3 separate regions of the Homo sapiens genome follow, and regions 1 and 2 are each linked to region 3. The links are contacts of gene promoters, found by promoter capture Hi-C in human tissues and cell types (Jung and others, 2019). All regions are on one chromosome and are shown on one strand. The core of a region is centred on a gene start or on the middle of the fragment in contact, and the rest is flanking DNA. Distances in the headings are between cores, read along the strand shown. Region 1 has its middle 50 kb from the start of FKBP1C. Region 2 has its middle 35 kb from the start of FKBP1C. Region 3 holds the start of FKBP1C (FKBP prolyl isomerase family member 1C).

Region 1 (4,095 bases), core at 961-3,460, 50 kb before region 3:
ATTGGAAGGATTAAATATAAAATGTTTATTTTCAGTATGGCAGCAATAGAATGAAACACACTTTCAACGAAAATAGTACTAAGTTTGCAGAACATAAACATAGTATTCCACTTTGCAAACTAATTTTCTTTTCTTCTCTTTTGTATTGTCTAAGACCATGTATTTATTACCAGAATTTATTACAACCTTTTTGACAAAAGGTATGGTTCCGTTGGTCTTTTGCAAGAGGTCACTCACTACAACATGATTTAACTTTCTGTACTATAAATGAATGAGAAATTGCTATCAAAATAAAAAAATGTAACTATGGAAGCATAAAAAGAAAAATTTACATGAGAGAAAAAAATGTCTAAAGTTGTATGCTCGTGTAATATTGACTCCCAATGTTGAACAAATACCTTGGCAGTTATAAGCCCGATTTGATCCATAATTGCAATAGGATATTTTAATATATCTTCTCAGTAAACGAGACAATAACATTTGTTACTACATAACAAATATACTATATATATAATATACATACGATATAAATATATAGTATATTTGTTATATATAAATAACAGTTATATAGTATATGACTGTTACATAGTATATTTGTTATATATAAATGTTATATATAAATAACAAATATAGTATATAACAGTCATATACTATATAACTGTTTGAAAACAGTTAATAAACAATATTTAGGATACATGTAAAGAAAATTTGAAGAAAAAATAAACATTTTTTTTTCCAAGACAGAGTCTTGCTCTGTCGCCCAGGCTGGAGGTGCAATGGCATGATCTCAGCTCACTGCAACCTCGGCCTCCTGGGTTCAAGCAATTCTCCTGCCTCAGCCTCCCTAGAAGCTGGGATGACAGGTGCCCATCACCATGCCGGGCTAATTTTTGTATTTTTAGTAGAGATGGGGTTTCACCATGTTGGCCAGGCTGGTCTTGAACTCCTGTCCTCAAGTGATCCTCCTGCCTCAGCCTCCCAAAGTGCTGGGATTACAGGCATGAGCCACCACACCCAGCCTACACATTGTTTTTAATCACATGCAATCAAACTGTCGAAAACGAATGGAGGCAGTACATTCAGCTGTAATGGGAAACACTTGTAATCTGTAATCTTCCTGATATGAGGAAGGTGCTTATTCTCACATGAAAGGACAGGATGAGATCAGGAACTACACAATGTGGCAGAGCAAAAAGCTCCCATCTAGTTGGTTTTGATAGAATCATTTTAGCTTAGACTCATTTTCTAATGTCAATTATAATGCTTGTATTATACCATCTCACTCCTGGTTGCCAAAAGCAATAAAATGCTTGTTTAATCTGGCTTAAATGCTGCACTTAGTCTTTTACTTAAAAATCTAGAGGTTGGAGGATCCAGTGATACTCAACTATTCAATAATATTGTGGTCCTGGTGTCACATATCTGAGGTTCTCTTGGCCTTCTCCTTATGGTGATGGCTCCAACCATCAAGTCCTAAGACATTTGAAAGCAATAAGAAAGAGGTGAAGTAGAACATAATTTTTTCACTTGAGTAACTCTTTCAAACAGAAAAGAAAAAATATCTTCCCAGAGGCATCCTCCTGTGGTGGATGGTAAAAATGGCCACAGTTCACTGCAGTTCCTTCTATCAAGAGATGGACCCTATTTCCCCGATCCAAAAATTTGTGCTATCTGTGGTTTGCTTTGGTCAATGTAATGCACATATGTGATGCTGTTAGAGTTTCAAGGCTGGACCTCAAGAAACTTGCACATTTCAACTCCTGGTTTATTAAATATTACAATTGTCATGTGAAAATGCCTGCCCTAGTCTGCTGGATGGTGAGAGACATGGGGCCTAATTATTCATTTTGCCCTGGTTGACAGATTGCCAAACACTAGACATGTGAATGTGGTCATGCTAGATCATACAACCACCCGCCCACCTGCCATGTGAACACAGAATCATGAGCAAGCCCAGGCCATATCAGTGGAGCCAATCTTCACCAGAAGAAACACCCAGTCAAATCATAAAACCATAAGTTAAATAAATGTTTAGTTTTTTAAAGCCACTACATTTAAGAGAGGTCTGTTACGCAGCAAGAGTTACCTAATACATCTCCCATCAGCCTTATCCTTAAATCTATTTGGTCAGAAATCAAGTTGCATCTCCACACCTAGACCAAGCATGGAAAAAAGGAAATTATAATGACTGAAATAGACACACAGTGCTTTATCCCCTGGCACTGGACACACTGCCACCCAAATAAGAGAGAGTTTCCATAGCAAGGAAGTAAAAGGATTGGCTTTGGCTAAGCAAACAACAGTATCATCCACTGACATACTGAGGTCTTCAGAAAAAATGAAAGAGGGAAAATGTTAGAAGTGATTAAGAAGTCAGGAATTTAACTTTGACATAGTATCAGATACGAGCCTAAATATAGAATAAGCAGCTTCAACATGTGCCATAATTTAGATTCTAGAGATATTTAATTATTGGAATTTATCTTAACCTCTAAAAGCAGTTACTCTTTGCTATTTCTAGATGATCAGATTTAATTTGAATTCAATTTCTTCCAAGGGCTGAGATTAAGATGTCTATTTAGATATGAGTAGCCATGGACATATTTTTTGAAGAAAAGATTTAGCTATATACATCCATACACACAAATCATTTTCCTGTAGTACTTCTCTTGAAATTCAATTTCTTATTTAGCATACTTCATTTACTTGAAAATTCAATAGCCTATTTAACATACTTCATTTTTTCCTTTTAATCTTCACAGTGTTCAATAAATATGGTCAATAAATTTTTTATGATAAAATACAGTCATCATGATGATAAAATTTGTTAGCTTTATCCTGACTCTATATGTAGCTTTATTTGTATTATTTAGTTTTCCACATACTACATCCTATCTTTGTAAGAGAAGTCCCTAAAGTATGGGTGGTGCATAATTCCAAGACACAGTATTGAAAATAGCCTAATATAATAATTTAAAGTGACATCTCTTTCCCAAATTTCCCTTTTAAATGTACATACTTTATCTGCTTAATTCTTATTAAGTGCCAGCTGTACTATATATTAGCAAAATTGGTAGAAAGTTCATTTTTAAAGAAAGAATACACTAAATGTAGAAGGCCAAAGATTTGTAGAAGGCCAAAGATTCCTTCACAACTGCAGTTTGAAGGAATAAAAGAAATTACCTTCATTTTATAGCATTAAAAATGAAATGAGACTGCTACTGTATTTTGAGAACAAAATAAATGTACTGTCAAATACTCTTTTATCTTATTTTAAAACATCAGAATTGTGCATATTTTTAGAAAACACAAAATGTTGAGCATCTATGAACATCAGAAGAAAATGATGATATAGATTATGTTGAATGTTAGTTTTAAACTATAGATGGCTGCAAGTTGATTATCCAAATCAAATACAGCATGGCCTTCCTGGATGGACATCAGTTCTCATTAATGCTCATATATTAAGAAATTTTTGGAGTGGAGTCTAGGAGTAAAATTTATTCTGTTATAATTAGTTGCACCTGAAATGCTCTTCAATTAGCTAGTGTAAATTAATCAAGGTCTTATATCCAGGATACTGAAGTATTCAGAGTAATAAATGGCCTCTGCATTTGATTAAATGCAAAATGAAGCTGATGTGTTTAATCAACCACAAGTGCCTTTTTACAGCAAATAAGTACTCTCTAACACATGGGCCATTATAACTTCCCTTCTAGCAAGAGAAAACTTTCAGTGTGTTCATCTGGCTGATAATGAAAATACCATCCCACTGTAAAGGAGTTGCTTCTGCCTTTTGCTGCTTACAGTAGGATCCACACAAGACTATCTAAATTATTATTTTGCTAAATTGAGCAAAATATACAACTGCTTTTTCTATAAAATTACAGATATTTTTACTCTTAGCTTGGTGAAGTGAAGCTTAGTAGAATAACAATCCGTAAGTAGTAAAATGTTATCTAAACCAATAAAGATAATTAAATCAAGCAAATGATCTGAGGTGGTTAAACATCAAAAAAGTACAAAAGCAATGCATAAAGTGATGAATTGTCCTTCTCTTTTTCAGGAGAGGAAGATTAATGTTGTCACAGGCTA
Region 2 (3,684 bases), core at 761-3,260, 35 kb after region 3:
TGATTCTTTTTTCTTAACTAGATATTCTGCATCACTATTAAAAAAGCAAAAAGTCATAAATAAAATTCAAGTCCTGTGTTGAATGAGCACATGAAGGAGTAAAAGGGAATGTGATATTAATCACCTGAAGGGGAAGAGAGCTTTTGCTGCTAATGGGGGCATTTGCAAGACAGATTTTGGTGAAACTTAAAGATTCTATTAAAAGAATTTTTCTTCTATTCTTTTATAGACACCTAAAAGGCCTCCAAAAGTTGAGTTTGCCAAATTTAAGAACATTTCAAGCTCACTTTATATCGTTTTGGCAAAAGCTAATACAATAGGAATCCAGCACAGTTTACCTGGGGACACTGAAGTTCTTGAAGAGCCCATTTCGCAAGGTATATTTATATTCAGTTAAACTTCTATGGCTGAGTGATCCTATAAAACTGCATCTCTCACTCTCCCAAAAGGATTGACAGATTTAGTGAATAGAAAGATGCTCAGCTATATTTGCATTTCCTATAAACAAGGAATAATTTTTTGTATAATTATGTTCCCAATATCTGGAAACCATGCTCACTAAGTATGGGCAATATTCTGGCAGGGAGTCTGGAAGGTTGTCATAAATTAATATTTTTTCCCAATGCTTGATATGTCATGCTTGTACACATTTTATAGTTATCATGAAAGATGTGGCTGGGCACTGTGGCTCATGCCTGTAATCCCAACACTTTGGGAGGCTGAGATGGGTGGATGGCTTGAGCCCAGGAATCGAGACCGGCCTGGACAACATGGCGAAAGCCCATCTCAACAAAAAAATTAAAAAAAAAAAAAATAGCCCAGCGTGATGATGCGCACCTGTAGTCCCAGCTATTCAGGAGGCTGAGGTAGGAGGATTACTTGAAAACAAGCGGCAGAGGTTGCAGTGAACAGAGATTGTGCCACTGCACTCCATCTTGAGCAACAAAACCAGACCTAGTCTTAAAAAAAAAAGAAAAAAAAAACACATCCCCAGTTCCCATACCATTTGGGATAGAGACAAATAGGCAGCTGAGTTTGTCCCTTACACACTACTTAAAGGGAAAGACTGACCCTGCTGATTCGTGTCTAATTCCTCGGGAGAAAGGGGATGCATGAAGTTACTTGGAGATGGACTGTCACGCAAAAGTCCTCTCTGTATCCTTAAAAGGACGATGTACTCTATTTGGGGATCAGGATGTTAGAGTAATGCTCACAGTATATGTGGTAGAGGCAGAAAAAAAAAAATGTTTTTTTCTCCTTCCATAGTGAGGCACTGCAACAATAATAGCATGGTTCAATTTTGGTAAAAACTGCAAGCTAACAGCAAACATTGTATTGCTCTTACAATGAGCTTGGCACTGTCCTAAACATCAACAGCACATATTAACTTAGTGAATCTTCACAATCCTCAAATGGGGGAAGTAGATGAGGAAACTAGTCATGAGGGTAAATATTGATCCAACTCACACACTATTTAGTGGCAAGTTCAGGTTTAGGACCTATACTATCAGGTTCCTAACTATTGCATCATGCTACCTCTCATACTGAAATTCGTCTTGGAACTCATCCAATATGGACAGAAACATATGGGGCCAGAGGTGCAGTAGATGGCGACTTGGAGTATTTAGCTTTTCCCTGGAATATTCTAGGAATCCAGAAATACTTGTGATTACTTTAAGTTCAGGAAATCTGGCAATCCTAAATATTTGCTGTTATTTATGATGTTAAGCATTAGATATACTTTATGTATTTTTTCTCATTTAACTTATTTTATATATAGAGAGAGAGATTATTTTATTTTATTTTAAGTTCCAGGATACACATGCAGGACACCTGCAAGTTTGTTACATAAGTAAACGTGTGCCATGGTGGTTTGCTGTACCTATCAACCCATCACCTAGGTATTAAGCCCAGCAGTATTAACTATTTATCCTGATGCTCTCCCTCTGCCTACATCCCCCTACAGGCCCCAGTGTGTATTGTTCCCCTCCCTGTGTCCATATGTTCTCACTGTTCAGCTCCCACTTATAAGTGTGAACATGCAGTGTTTGGTTTTCTGTTCTTGTCTTGTTATTGTATGCATACAATTCTCATGACCCATCAGAATTTATTATTTATCCCTTCTTTAAAAAATAAAACTAATATTAAGTGGTCACAAACTAAGTAAAAGAACTAACAGTGAAACCCCCCAGACTCATATCCCACTGCCTCTAGGAAATTGCTCTAGAAATATGTTATAGTTACATTTACTTGCACTTTGCTTTTAGAAGGCTTGGTGGTCAGAATGAGCTGTGGCTTTTTGAGAATTTATGCTCAATGACTACCATGCTGTGAATCCCTATTTTCAGAGGTTTTCTTTAAATAATTGAAAAGTCCTTTCCTTCTCCAATTAAAACAGGTGTACAATTTGAAAATAGGACTATTTCCTCTATCTGTCCTATCTTATTTTAGCCATACCTGACATTTTATTGGCATGTATAAAGCAGTTTAATTTAATGAGATGAGCATAATTTAAAGATAAATACATGGGTTATCCTTATTCCTCTAAACAGCAAGTGTGCTCTTCAAGCTTCTATCTTTGCAGACTGATTTCCCTAAATTATGCTTGAAAAAAAATTTTTAATTGCATTCCAATCCACATACATATGCATGTACATACACACATACAGAAAATTACATATGCAAAACCTGGAAGCTCATTCTGCTCTAACACTAAAAATGTTTTCTTATGAAATCTCAACTTAATTAAAAATCCTGTCTAAAATCTTGTAATTTAAAGAGCTACCTCAATGCAGGGGAAAGGAGCTGAAGACTAGAAATTTCAGTCTTGCATTAAAAAGTTATTTTTTTCTACAAGAATTCAATAATATTGGGAAAATTTTTTCCAAAAGAAATACATGAACATATTATCTTAAACATTTCAAACAATATAGATAACAACAAAAAATAGGCCAGGTGCGGTGGCTCACGCCTGTAATCCCAGAACTTTGGAGGGCCGAGGCGGGCAGATAATGAGGTCAGGAGATGGAGACCATCCTGGCTAACACGGTAAAACCCCGTCTCTACTAAAAATACAAAAAATCAGCCGGGCGTGGTGGCAGGCGCCTGTAGTCCCAGCTACTCGGGAGGCTGAGGCAGGAGAATGGCCGTGAACGCGGGAGGCGGGGCTTGCAGTGAGCTGAGATTGCGCCACTGCACTCCAGCCTGGGCGACAGAGCGAGACTCCGTCTCAACAACAACAACAAAAAGCATAGTCTAAGCCCCCTTTTTTCCTTTCCTTACACTTCTTGTTGCTAGCTATAGCTCCATAAACCATCTGATGTGTATCCTTCTAGATATTTTCTGTGCATGTACATGCACATATACATTTTTCTTATAACACAACCCTTCCACTCCTATTTATAAAAGAGAAATTAAATCAGCACACATCTATACAAAGAATTAACTACAAATTTTCATAGCTGTTTTATAAGTAATAGCCAAAAACTTTATATAACCTAAATGTCCGTTAGTAAGTAAGTGGATAAATAAATTGTAGGCTATCCAGACTACAAAACACTCCCGAGCAATAACAAGGAATCCACTATTGGTATACACAGCAATCTGTTAAATATCAAAATAATTATGCTGAATGAAAGAAGGCAAATAAAAAGAGTGCACACTGTGTGATTCCATTAATATAAA
Region 3 (3,631 bases), core at 620-3,119:
TTGGAGAGCAGTTAATTCTTCAAAGAAGGAAACTTAACGAGACATTGTGTGTGTAATGGAAATGTGATGTACATGAGTTTATGCTTACAAAATAATCAATAACTACAATGTAAAATCAGCACTCAATCCTTGTAAGACCACAGTATGAAAATTTCTACTTTCCTTCAAAAAGGGTTTGTAAATGATTTTAAAAGAAGAAACAGCAGCCTCGACTCTTAGAAAACTTAACTAGATAAATTTGCACATTACAAGTCTTAAAACTAGAAACCATATTATTAACTGTGAAACTATATAATTAGTTTCTTTGTGAGCTTTCAATTTTTTGCTAGATAAAATTAAAACTGCCACCAAAAAATGAGGCCATTATGAACATGACAGGTCATTTGTTGAGAAAAGGGTTATGTAGAAATAGCATCTGATAATTTGTTGGAAATATTAGCATATAGATGGCTATGAAATGTGTGAAGTATTATCAGAAGAATTCTAATAAAAAATTTTTGCAGTGTAAGTCGACTATGGTTCTATTTCAAATGTAGTTAGGTTCTTAGCCCTAATGGCAAGCAGAGGCTACACTAAATGTATTTAACCTAAAGACAAGTTGATAAGAAATTTATAATTCCACTGTTTTTTAAAAATTACAAAAGTAAAAGGTATATACACATAACATCTACAGCAACAAAGAATGCAAAAACATTCTTTTCACATAGAAAGAGTTAAATATACATGCTTTCAAGAACAATAGCAGCTTCTCTTAAACTTTCTTAACTTACCTAGTGTTTTCTATCACTAAAAAAGCTGTATGTAAATCATTAAGTTTAGACTACTGAATCTATATCGTTCTTTGTAAACCAGACTCAAAGCATATTTCTTTCTAAGTTAACATGAACATAATAGAACACACAGAAAGAAAAATATAACTGTGAGTTTATATGCAAAGTACTGGACAACTTTCAAATATATACATCCTTCCTTTTTTCTTTAAAATATCTCTCTACACTGATACTTCTGGCAGAAACCTGACAATAGTGGCTACGCTAATCGTAGCATACTATTTAGATGGACAACAGTTAATTCATTTGAGCAAAAGTTTTAGAGATCTGTTTTAGACCTTTAAATCAAACTCCAGATATATACAATAGTATCCCTTATCCACAGTTTTGCTTTCTGCAGTTTCAGTTACCCATGGTCAATAGTGGTCTGCAAATATTAAATTGAAAGCTTCAGAAATAAACAATTCATAAGTTTTAAATTGCACACCATTCTGAGTAGTGTGAAGAAATCTCGAGCCATCCCGTTCCACTCTCACCTGACTGAGACGTGAATTATCCCATTGTCCACCATCTCCACACTGTATACCCTCCCTGTCTGTTAGTCACTCAGTAGCTGTCTTGGTTATCAGATCAATTGTAAGGTAGCTCAGAGCTTGTGTTTAATATGTACCCCTTATTTTACTTCATAATGGCCTCAAAGTGCAAGAGTAATGATGCTTTTATATTGTTATAACTGTTCTATTTTATTATTAGTCATTGTTTTTAGTCTCTTGCTGTGCCTAATTTATAAATTAAATTTTATCATAGGTATGTATGTACAGGAAAAAATATAGTATATATAGGGTTCTGTACTATCTGTGGTTCTGTGGTTTCAGGCACCCACTGGGGATCTTGGAACGTAGCCGCCACAGATAATGGGAGACCAAACACAAAGTTAACAAAGTTAACAAGGAAATGGTAACACTTCCAGTACGGGAAAAAAAAAAAAAAACCTATTTAGAGATTTTTAAGTGACTCATTCAACACACTTGCCCAGAAGGCACTAATATAGAATTTGTAGATTTTAAAAATACAGTATGGGCAGGCAACGCGCTGAGGGACTAGGCAGAGCCGTGGAACCGCCGCCAGGTCGCTGTCGGTCCACGCCGCCCGTCGCGCTGCCCGCCCGCTCGGCGTCGGCCGCCGCCATGGGAGTGCACGTGGAAACCATCTCCCCAGGAGACTGGCGCACCTTCCCGAAGCGCAGCCAGACCTGCGTGATGCACTACACCGGGATGCTTGAAGATGGAAAGAAATTTGATTCCTCCCGGGACAGAAACAAGCCCTTTAAGTTTATGCTAGGCAAGCAGGAGGTGATCCGAGGCTGGGAAGAAGGGGTTGTCCAGATGAGTGTGGGTCAGAGAGCCAAACTGACTATATCTCCAGATTATGCCTATGGTGCCACTGGGCACCCAGGCATCATCCCACCACATGCCACTCTCGTCTTCGATGTGGAGCTTCTAAAACTGGAATGACAGGAATGGCCTCCTCCCTTAGCTCCCTGTTCTTGGATCTGCCATGGAGGGATCTGGTGCCTCCAGACGTGTGCACATAAATCCATATGGAGCTTTTCCTGATGTTCCACTCCACTTTGTATAGACATCTGCCCCAACTGAATGTGTTCTGTCACTCAGCTTTGCTTCCGACACCTCTGTTTCCTCTTCCCCTTTCTCCTGGTATGTGCGTTTACCTAAACTATATGCCATAAACGTCAAGTTATTCATTTTACTTTTTCATTTTGGGGTGAAGATTCAGTTTCAGTCTTTTGAATATAGGTTTCCAATTAAGTACATGGTCAAGTGTTAACAGCACAAGTGATAAGTTAACGTTAGGATAGGAATTGGTGTTGAGGGGGTTGCAAGAATATTTTATTTTAATTTTTTGGATGAAATTTTTATCTATTATATATTAAACATTCTTGCTGCTGCGCTGCAAAACCATAGCAGATTTGAGGCACTGTTGAGGACTGAATTATTCTCCAAGTTGAGAGATGTCCTTGGGTTAAATTAAAAGCCCTACCTAAAACTGAGGTGGGGATGGGGAGAGGCTTTGCCTCCACCATTCCCACCCCACCCTCCCCTTAAACCCTCTGCCTTTGAAAGCAGGTCATGTTCACTGCGATGCTGGACACTACAGGTATCTGTCCCTGGGCCAGCAGGGACCTCTGAAGCCTTCTTTGTGGCCTTATTTTTTTTTTTTTTTTTTTCATCCTGTGGTTTTTCTAACGGACTTTCAGGAATTTTGTAATCTCATAACTTTCCAAGCTCCACCACTTCCTAAATCTTAAGAACTTTAATTGACAGTTTCAATTGAAGGTGCTGTTTGTAGACTTAACACCCAGTGAAAGCCCAGCCATCATGACAAATCCTTGAATGTTCTCTTAAGAAAATGATGCTGGTCATCCCAGCTTCAGCATCTCCTGTTTTTTGATGCTTGGCTCCCTCTGCTGATCTCAGAGTTTCCTGGCTTTTCCTCCCTCAGCCACTTCTCACCCCTTTGCTGTCCTGTGTAGTGATTTGGTGAGAGGAATCGTTGCTGCCCCCTTCCCCTAGCACCATATATGAGTCTCAAGTTTTATTATTGCAATAAAAGTGCTTTATGCTGGCTTTTCTCAAAAAATAAATAAATAAATAAATAAATAAAATAAAAATACAGTATGCACCTGTTCACCAAAAATCTATGGAAATAAAAAAATTAAATAAATAACTAAATATAAATAAAAATATGGTATGGAACCAGCCTAATTACTCATAGAACTGCTGTTTATGGTTTCTTTTGAATAAACATAAAAATTGAGACTCCCATCTTAAAACTTGAGAAAG

The links. Contacts are between HindIII fragments. The study calls those that stand out against the background at their distance.
Region 1: a fragment that was not itself captured here is called in contact with the fragment with the promoter of FKBP1C in region 3 in 2 of the 25 tissues and cell types used here (heart right ventricle and thymus).
Region 2: a fragment that was not itself captured here is called in contact with the fragment with the promoter of FKBP1C in region 3 in 5 of the 25 tissues and cell types used here (bladder, hippocampus, mesenchymal stem cells and 2 more).

Annotation. Positions count from the first base shown.
Region 1 is chr6:63,158,987-63,163,081 of GRCh38, forward strand. No RefSeq gene overlaps it. Among named protein-coding and RNA genes, the nearest start is that of FKBP1C, 50 kb to the right of the region's middle. The HindIII fragment of the contact is 8,263 bases long and covers 1-4,095 here.
Region 2 is chr6:63,244,151-63,247,834 of GRCh38, forward strand. No RefSeq gene overlaps it. Among named protein-coding and RNA genes, the nearest start is that of FKBP1C, 35 kb to the left of the region's middle. The HindIII fragment of the contact is 4,699 bases long and covers 1-3,684 here.
Region 3 is chr6:63,209,600-63,213,230 of GRCh38, forward strand. FKBP1C (FKBP prolyl isomerase family member 1C) reads left to right here and starts at 1,870. Exons shown (of 1, transcript NM_001395980.1): 1 at 1,870-3,428. The coding sequence starts at 1,958. The coding sequence ends at 2,284. The HindIII fragment of the contact is 10,095 bases long and covers 1-3,631 here.